3 separate regions of the Homo sapiens genome follow, and regions 2 and 3 are each linked to region 1. The links are contacts of gene promoters, found by promoter capture Hi-C in blood cells and fetal thymus (Javierre and others, 2016). All regions are on one chromosome and are shown on one strand. The core of a region is centred on a gene start or on the middle of the fragment in contact, and the rest is flanking DNA. Distances in the headings are between cores, read along the strand shown.

Region 1 (3,303 bases), core at 276-2,775:
GCTTAACCAGCGAGTTGGGACATTTTGTCATGAAGTCCTTCTCTTTCTGACCTGGCTTTCCCTCATTCTCCCTTGCCCGTTTTCCAAGGTGGAGGCTGGAAGCAGTAGAAATTCCACCGAGACATGAGAGGAAGTTGTGGGTTGCCTAGTGGGCCAGCGCATCCCTCGGCTGCTGACCTGAGAGCCATCTTCACACATTTTATTAGGCCCTCTCCCACGGCAGGCCAACTACTAAGTTGTAGGAAGACCAGTTCCCCACCCCCGAAGGGCCACCAGCTTCCCAGTCACTCACACTCTAGGAAAGCTCTGAACAGTGGCACCTGTCCCTTGACAGGCCCATCAACATCCGCCTGTACTTGCTTCTATTATCTTCAGCCCATTATAACATGGGTAACATCGCTGTCAATCTGTACCAAAAATACTTAAGCTAGGCAAAATGAATGATCATCTAACTCAAATGAAGTCCAGGTTCCAGGCGATCATGGAGAAAAATGTAATAAGGTGAGCAGGATTCAAGGATTTCTGGAAGCAAGGATATGGATGATTTCCAAGATTAAATAAGGGATAGAACACAGGTTAGAACACCAGACTAGCCAACATTACAAATGACCAAGAAAGACCAATGACAGCTGGGTAGGAGTTTAATCTTCCTAAAGACGGCTGAACTCTGGGTTACACCTGCAATCTTTGTGGCAGTTCAACTGCTGTAATAACCCTGGCTATTAGCCTCAATGACACGGAAGGACCAGCTAACTCGGAGCTTCCCAGTGCTGGGGCTAACTCGTGGAGTGGCCCGGACGCCTCGCAACAAGTGAAGCCAAAGCCGGCGCCCTCCCACCAGACGGGGCTCGCGCCCGGGGACGCTAGTCCGACTCCCGGCTTCCCGCAACCCGGCCCCAAAGGCCTAAAAATAGGCTCAGCGTGGCGGCCGGGGCCGGGGCGGGCGGCGGAGGAGCCGGGCGGAGGCCGCAGTATCCCCGCCTCGGAGCCCCTGCTTCCTGGGGTTCCGGGCCGCCAGAGGCCGGGGCAGCTCCCCACGATGCCGCTGCGCCCCGGACTCCCGCCTGGAACCCCCAGGGGAACCGGCTCCCCACCCCCACACGGCCCCGCCGCAGCTGCTCCGCCCGCCGGCCCTTCGCCGTGAGAGCAAGAGGAAGGACGAGGAGACGGAAGCAGGAACGAGAGCTCCGGCCGAGGGCCCGGGCTCTGCCCGGCTGCCCCATCCCTGCACTCTGGGGGGCGGCGGGGCGGCAGCTGACGCAGGCAGAAACACGCCCGGCTGCGGCCAGCCAGCAACTTTGCGGCGGTTTCGTCCTGCCGGGAACACTCCGGGGCTGAGGGCGGAGGAGAAGGGAGGCGGCGGCTGGGCAGGAAGCCGGGGTCCCGGGGCTGGCGGCGGCGGGCTGCGCGGCGGTACCTGTCATGGTGCTGCCGGGTGCGCAGGCGGCCGGGGCAGCCTCAGGTTGGTGACTCAGAGAAGCCGGCACCGGGAGGGAGCGCGGCCAGCGAGGAGGCACGGCGGGGAACCGAGCGTCTGCCCCGTGCGCTCTTATAGCGGCCGTCACGTGGCCGCGCACGCTCTCGCTGCCGTCCGCATCCTCCCAGCTGCGCGGCCGGCAGGGGCGGTGGCCCGCGGGGCTCCGGGTCCCGCGTCTCCCTCGGCTCCTCCTCCCTCCCTCGGGGCTAGGCTGCCGCTGCGGCTGCGGCTCACCGGCGCCCCTGCTCCTACTTCCCCGGGGCGCCTGCCCTTGTCAACCGCGCGCCCCCTGTCGCCGCTAAACCTGGGAGTTAAGGGGGACTTTGGGGCTGAGTGCGGCATCAAACTCCCCAAGAAGCCAAGGGTTAGGGAACCTTAAAAAACAAGCAAACAAACCCCAGATTACTCTAGTTAAAATCGTGAGTCTGAACTGCTTGAATGAAACGTAAAATTTACGCTTTTTTTGCAGAATTTCGATCAGCCTCTATAATCATTCCTTAGTGTACTCACAATGGTTTTGTACCCTTAACCTAAAAAATATAGTGAATATTTCGTAAATGTTAAATTCTTGGAGCCATCTGCATCAATTAGGCATTTAAGTGCTTCATTTAATCCTTGTACGAACTCAGTGAGGTGTTACATATTCATTTTACAGACGAGGAGGAAACTGAGCTCAGAAAAGTTAAATTAACTTTTCTTTTCTTTTTTTTCTTGTATTTTTAGTAGAGACAGAGTTTCACCATGTTGGCCAGCCTGGTCTGGAACTCCTGGCCTCAAGTGATCTGCCAGCCTTAGCCTCCCAAAGTGCTAACTTTTCTATAGTCATATAATATAAATGGAGAAAGTAGGATTTAAACCCTGGCAGTTTGGTTACAGAATCAACCTTCCCACCCAGAAAGTCTTGGTGCCTCTTGTACACAGGGGCTCCAAAAAGGTTAGTAAATTATTGTAACTGTGGTTAGCCAATGCTAACCTGTTTCACAAATCTTGAAATGGTCAATTTGTCATTTTTCTAGGAAGTTGAGAAATAGCTTTAATGTGATCACATCCTTCTCTGCTCCCCATCCCCAGTCCAAACACAGAACAAGCCTCGGGTAGTTCAGTTCTCTGCAAACTGAAAACTGAAATTGCTCGGTAAATGTTGAATGAGTACTGCAAAGCCATTTGGAAACCAATCAGGAAGTTGACATCAGTTCAAAAAGCAAAACAGATGCTTAAGAATAAGTGATTTATTTGCAAAGGTGGTACTGCTGTCCTCAAACCAGTTATATCACTGTTTCCTCGTGTGTGGGTGTGGATCTCCTACATCAGAATCACTTGGGGGCACTGGTTAAAGCGTAGATTTTTGGGCCTAAGCCCAGACCTCCTGAATCAGAATCTTAAGGGTAGGTTTATTTTGGTGCAAAATAATTTTGAAATCCATGCATTTTTTTTTTATAATATGTATATTCTATGGACTTTTTGAAGTCGCGTCATATACTCTTGAGGTAATGAAATACTCTGTAGGCATAATCATTATATATTTTTAATATAAAAAGCTGTTCAAAATATATTATTTGAAGAAAAACAGGTTACAAAACAAAAAGAATCTTAAGGGTAGAACCTTAAAATCAGTATTTTAAATATCACCTTCCAGGAGCCTCTCTTGAGTCCTTCCTAGTCTTGACCATGGCCTAGAGACCGCTGATCACATGGGAGGCCCTCCCAGTTACTTGGCATTATGTGCTTCCGTTGTAGGAAACAGAAAAGTGGAAAGGGCAATAGATGGGTTTCCACTTATTCAAAAGATATAGACATAGAAGAGTTGGAGCTCTTTAAGGAACACA
Region 2 (3,303 bases), core at 216-2,715, 310 kb before region 1:
AGAGTACAACTGGATTGTTTATAACACAAAAGATAAATGCTTGAGGTAATGGATACCTCATTTACCCTAATGTGATTATTATGCATTGCATACTTGTGTCAAAATATCTCATGTACCCCACAAATATATACACCTACTATGTACCCACAAAAACTAAAAATAAATTTTTAAAAATTCCTTCTGTAAAAGTACAAAACAGCTCTTATTACAGTATGACATGTTTTTAGCATCATGATATTGGAAGTCCACTTCCAAGAAGAAAAACTACGTTTTTCAGATGAATTACCCTGTCAGCTGAAGAATCACAAGGTTCATACATTTGGAAAGGACAGCTTTATTTCTCACAAAAGGCTGCAACCTGCAGGGTGGCCATTCTGACACGCTGGGAAGTGTAACCTCTGGCCAGAAGCCAGAAACAGGCACTTCAAGGTAGTGCTGAAAGAAACGGGAATTTATGCTGAGCAGAGTGGCTGAAAATACCTTTTTATTAGGCTGTAGGAGGAGTCATGAATATTTATTAAAGGAGAAACATGTGCTTCACAATTGAGCTTTATGCCTCTTCATGAATTCCCTGTACAAAAAATTGTGGCATTAGCATGATCTGAGAGTGGAGTTTTCAGCCCCCTAATGTCAAAAGATGAAGGGGAGGACACAAATGCCCTGGCTGTGCACCCTGCATAGATTGGCCAGAACCACTTCATGGTTGTTGGTCTCTTATCAGGAAGGGATTTATGGTTTAACTGGTGAGCTGTCATGTTGAAACTGCAATGTGGGAAAGGGAGTCCTGTGGCAGCCTCAGAGGACTGGCTAAAGTTGACAAAGTAATGAGTCATCCATTTCTCATTTTCCAGAGCTGGTTTCTGCTTACTTACGCCTTAGGAAAGAATTCTGGTTAAAGGTTAGAAGGAATGGGGCATACTGAGGCATGTTCGACCTGCTAGCCCATCATGGCCAGGAACTCAGTTTCTAAGGTTTCTCTGGAGTCCCCTGGGCCAAGAGATGGTGTGTTCAGTCAGTTGGAGAAGCTTAGGACTTTATTTTTATTTCTCAACCCATATTAAAGAATTGATTCTATTAACCTCAAAAGTCAAATACTCATACATAAAGTCCTTGAAAAGGCTCATTCAGAATCACATGCTTATGCGTAAATTTCTCTGATTAAGGCTTCTTTGTTTAAAGAGCCAACATTCAAGGAAAAAGTTTTAAAACTATTCCATAATTTTTACAATTTTCTTAGTTGTCAGATTTGTATCTGCATTGTCTTCTATGATTTTTACTATAAATATAATTACATGAGAATGGAGTGTTTCTTAGAAGTGACCACTTATGATATTAGTCTCCATTTAAACATTTCTTCCCATGTGATACAAATATATTTCCATATTTATTGTGTCAGTATATTTGTTACTCTCATGAAGCAAACAGAATGCCAATTAAATGCAAATAGCAGGATTTAAGTGATTAGATGTGATGAGGAACTACTTAAATCACACATAAAGATTTGACAAATAAGAATCTAGTAAATGTTTGAAGAAAAGCAAAGGGGGTAATGATAGGTTATGTGTCTCAAAAGAATGGTTTGAATAGCATAGATTAAGAGATGCCCTTCGAAAAAGTGAAGTGCCCTCTAATATTTAGGCAAAATAACCCTATTTGTGAAGGTACTGCAAAAATCAACAGTGAAATAAAGGACTTGATATTGTGCCCCTCTTACAGCTTTGTCAACAAAAATCGTAACATTCAAATCCAAACACTTGATTTATTCCTGGTTCATTCTAAGATTTGGTAAAGACTTACAAATGTAATCAAATTTGTTTTAAATATTGGTTTGAGCCACAATAAGTGCCATTTTTAATAAATTTTACACAGTAGGGTTTAACATAATATAAGATAAAATAAGCTTATTTTCTTGATTGGTTTCATTTCTCATGATAAAATCCTAATACAATATTTTGGTTTGTTTCCAGTTTCCAATGGATTCATTTTAAATGGATATTTTTTAGTAGCAATTATCCTTGGCTATTTTGTCTACATTTGGGTTTACAAAGGCATTGGGAAGGCAAAAATGAAATCTACCAACCACTTGCAACATTGCTTCAATGGAGAAAAGTTATTGTGAGGTCCAAACGATGAATTGCAAGTAAATTTTTGCAGTCAGCCTATATTTTATTTTTTAGCTAACAGTATGCTAAAAAGTTGTGATTATGACATACTGTAAATGTTTTCAGTAGAAGCACACTCAGCACTTTGAGAGGCCAAGGCAGGAGGTTCACTTGAGGTGAGGAGTTCTCGACCAGCCTGGGCGACACAGCAAGACCTTGTCTCTATAAAAAAAATTTGAAAAGTTAACCGGGTGTGGTGGTGCATGTTTGTATTCTCAGCTACTTGGGAGGCTGAGGTGGGAGGATTGCTTGAACCCAGGAGTTCAAGGCTGCAATGAGTCATGATCGCACCACTGCACTCTCGCCTAAGTGACAGAGTAAAACTAACACTGTCTCAAAGAAAGAAAGAAACACACCAGAATGTGAATTTTCAAGTCAGTGTAGGTGTTCTCAAAGTCATCAGCCTCAGAGGTTATATAGACATTTTAACAATAGGGGCATAGTCCCTAACAGTTGTTGGGTCTCCTCTGGAATTGCCCTGGAAAATTCTGTGGCTATAATTCCTTCTACTCTTTTTTTTTTTTTTTTTTTTGGCAGAGTCATACTCTGTCACCCAGGCTGGAGTGCAGTGGTGCAATCTCAGCTCATTGCAACCTCTGCCTCCTGGGTTTAAGCAATTCTCGTGCCTCAGCCTTCCGAGGTAGCTGGGATTACAGGCATGTGGCACCATGCCCGGCTACTTTTTGTAATTTCAGTAGAGACTGGTTTTCACCATGTTGGCCAGGCTGGTCGCAAACTCCTGGCCTTAAGCCATCTGCCTGTCTCAGCCTCCCAAAGTGCTGGGATTACAGGCGTGAGCCACTGCACCGTTTTTTACTGTCATTTGAGTTGGCAAATATTCATCCACTGAAGGTGGGGGTTGGTTTTAATAAGTAAACAGGTAAATAAGTAAATAAGCTGGGCAATACATATGAGAGTGTAGAAAAGCATAAATACTACTCATATTTTACTTGTGGCTGCACCATGATTGCAGACCCTCTGTACTCATTATACTGGCCCCCTTTTTAATATATATTGGCCATATATATAGCCAATAGCAATTGGCCAAAAGGCTAGGGGCACAGGAAGTCTCAAATATTTGCTGAATGTTGAATACATGAATGATCTGATTCCCTCTTTAGAACCATCATTCACATATATA
Region 3 (3,303 bases), core at 235-2,734, 290 kb before region 1:
GTTAAAATTACCAGTTTATTGTGCCAGTGGCTTCTGCTCTAGGTAAGCATATTTCTTCTGTGACTCTAGATTGTCTGTCTCTTCAGATATGGGGATTTGCCCTACAAACTCCATTATCTGATGGGTTTAAGAAAAGCTGTTGATTTTCTTTGTCCAGTTTCTCTTGTTGTAAGGATTATGACTTCCATGCTCTTTACATGCTGGAGCTGAAACTGGAAGTCTTAGGGGTTGGTATTTGGGCATGTTGAATTTGACGAGTTCATTAGACTCTTGCTTCTCAAAGTGTGGTTCATGGACCTGCAGCACTGGCATCATCTGCGAGCCAGTGAGGAAATGCAGAATTTCAGACCCACCCAGACTTATAGAATACAGATTTTTCCTTTTAAAAAAATCTCCAGATGATTTTTCTGTGCATAAACATTTAAGAAGTTGCTATATTAACCATCTAAGTGGAAATGTGGCATAGATTATTGTATATACTGTTAGGCAGAGAGGTTCAAGCCAGAGACACACATTTCTGAGTTTTTGTCATGTTGGCACTATTTTAAGCCATGAAACAGATTCCCTGACCTACATCATGGACTTTAGTATCAGTGCACTCCAACTAAACCACAGGAACACATCTGTAGATGAACAAGTTGTGTTTGTTGCTTAACGCATTGAGAGAGAACATACATGATACAGAACCTTGGGGTATCTCAGAAAAAAAAAGCAGTGTTAAAAAGAACTTATTGTATGATTGGGGTTTGTGTTAGGTGATTTGTGGGGGATGTTTAAGGAAGCAGGGCTTTGCTCTGGATCAAAGGCAGTGAGAAAGTGGGGGAAATTTATGATTGGGTATCTTAATAAATGTAATCTATAAGAAAAGAAGAATGAAATAAAGCTAAAGCTATAATTGGTAAAGAGTAAAACAAAGCTAGAGCCATAAAATATAGTCAGGGAATGTGTGGTTATTTTTGAGATTTGGAGAATGTTCATGTTTCTCATGTATACTGTAAACCAAAAATAAAATTCTAAGGTCCCCCAACCATCTGAAAGGACTTCCTCCTCAGCCAAGGCTCTTTTAAAATTTTACCTGGAGACTGTTTCAGGCCTTGAAGGGCAGCGGGGGTTGGACATGCCTCATTACACCTCTCAACATTAACACCAACACAGACTTTAAGTCTGATAAGAAACATTTTTACAACCTATTGTTTCTGAAGCCTACTACCTAAAAGCTTCCTCTGTAAATAACTTGGGTCTCCACAATTCTTTATCTTAACCCAGACCTGCCTTTCTGTTGATCCAAGGTCTTTATACAAATTCAACCAATTGTCAACCAGAAAATGTTTAAATTTACTTATAGCCTGGAAGCCCCCACTCGGCATTGTCCCGCCTTTCTGACCAAACCAATGTATTTCTTAAATGTATTTGATTGATGTCTCATGCCTCCGTAAAATGGTATAAAACCAAGCTGCACCCCAACCACCTTGGGCACATGTTCTCAGGTCCTCCTAAGGGTTGTGTCACAGGCCATGGTTACTCATATTTGGTTCAGAATAAATGTCTTCAAATATTTTACGGAGTTTGACTCTTTTCATCAACAATATTCAGACATTTTCTGGAGTGGTATTGTTTTTCTTCTGGCTCCATTAGGGTCACAGAGTGGTGCTGTCTGATGTTGGTGTTCTGGGAGATTGTTTATGCCAAGGAGGAGGACACCAGGGCCTAGCTGTGAGTGCCAGGCCAGCTCCTAGTTGGGCAAAGCTTAGCCACTAGTACCAGGACAGCTCCTGGATGTTGGGGGGCTGCTTTTCTCTTTCTTACTGTTCAGTGTCTTCCCACTATTCCCTTCTGTGCCTTGCTTTGTAGGCCTCCAGTGTCTTATGTAGTCTACCCCATACTGCGAAAGCTTGTAATTTGCATAGCCTTAAACTGCGAAGGACTCAGAGCTCCAGCCCAAGTGGAACTCTCTCTGCCCCAGCTGCTAGCTGCTCTACTTATTCAAATTTTTCTAATCTAGTATATAGTTTCCCATAGAATAACCTTGATTATAAGGCAAGGAGTTTAATGGTAGGGCATCCACCAGGCTTTAAGTCCTGGATTTAAATTCTGGCAATAACATTTAGTTGTTTTGGTTAGTTGTTTAAAATCTCCAAGTTCCAGTTTCCTTATCTATAAAAGAGAACTTAATAAGCTTCCCTTTCAGAGTTGGTGGCACAATTAGAGCTAATATTTACAAAAGGGCTAAGGAAGAGCTGACTTTCAACAAATGGTGGTTATTGGTAGAAGTAATACAAAGAATAGAAATGGATCTAACAGTGACTGACATCCTCCATGGTGTCTTTAAACTCCCCATCTTGCCCCAACATCATTTATATCTAATTTATCAGCTTTGTTGGAAGATATAATTAGAGCCATATACTCTGAGAAAAACTGAGCATTTGTAGGTAATATAGAAGTCTACACACTTAAACTATTAAAGCCACTGCTATTACAGGTAGTATGAAAAGAACAGAAAATTTTATTTGGAATCCAGTAATCTATAGCTGACTACTGGCACTACAATTTGGAAATGTGCATTCTACAGCAAGTTACTTGACCTTTTGAGTTTTTGGTCTCTTATCTACAAATCAGATGTAAGGAAGGGGCAGGGGTAAGGGAGAGACTGTTGGGAAAATTACATAGGGTAATAATTTTCATTTATAAAATATTTTCTATATAGCAGAGTTTTTTACAAACAGATGTTATTATCACTAGTCCCTTATGCACATTTTTATTTGCTGTATTTATTTCTTAAACTTATTTACAGTTCTGGAATGGAAAAACCAGGAAGGAATCTAAATTTCCTCCAAGGTATTTAGCCTCACACCTTCAGGCTAAATTCAACAAAGTTTGGCTAAGTAAACTTAAATAAAGTGAGTTATGTTCTTGAGCTGTAACCAAGAATATAATCAAATGATAGTGACCAACTTTAAACACTGCTGTACCAAAAGGCTGATCTACTGAGGGCTATTCAGGGAGGAACAGAAAGGACTGGAACAATTATTTTCATCCTGACAAACAATAGTATGTAACATGACCTAGGAAAAAGTGCTTGACCCTTCACCCTTCAACAAGAAAAAAAAAATAGAAGCCAATTTTCCTAGTCACCTGTTGAGAAGAACCAAAACAACAAATATTTACCAATACCATGCTCTACCATTTTCGTTGTAGCTCTCAGTGGGCTGAGAGCTAACTTTTTCCATGTGCCTGCTCTGTGTCAAAGTAGAGGCCAGGTCCTCGCAGGAGCCATGAACTTTAATTATTATTACCCTTATATTA

What was found. Contacts are between HindIII fragments. The CHiCAGO score rates a contact against its expected background, and 5 or more counts as called.
Region 2: a fragment that was not itself captured here is called in contact with the fragment with the promoter of GYG1 in region 1 in 1 of 17 cell types (M2 macrophages); the score reaches 6.6 in M2 macrophages.
Region 3: a fragment that was not itself captured here is called in contact with the fragment with the promoter of GYG1 in region 1 in 3 of 17 cell types (M1 macrophages, naive CD8 T cells and total CD8 T cells); the score reaches 6.3 in M1 macrophages.

What each region holds. Positions count from the first base shown.
Region 1 is chr3:148,989,762-148,993,064 of GRCh38, reverse strand. It overlaps GYG1 (glycogenin 1), which reads right to left and starts at 1,525. Exons shown (of 8, transcript NM_004130.4): 1 at 1,418-1,525. The coding sequence starts at 1,424. RefSeq lists silencers at 509-803, 837-1,886. The HindIII fragment of the contact is 9,660 bases long and covers 1-3,303 here.
Region 2 is chr3:149,297,818-149,301,120 of GRCh38, reverse strand. The region is part of intron 1 of TM4SF18-AS1 (TM4SF18 antisense RNA 1); the gene reads right to left. Among named protein-coding and RNA genes, the nearest start is that of TM4SF18-AS1, 15 kb to the right of the region's middle. The HindIII fragment of the contact is 875 bases long and covers 1,028-1,902 here.
Region 3 is chr3:149,279,754-149,283,056 of GRCh38, reverse strand. No RefSeq gene overlaps it. Among named protein-coding and RNA genes, the nearest start is that of TM4SF18-AS1, 3.4 kb to the left of the region's middle. The HindIII fragment of the contact is 529 bases long and covers 1,220-1,748 here.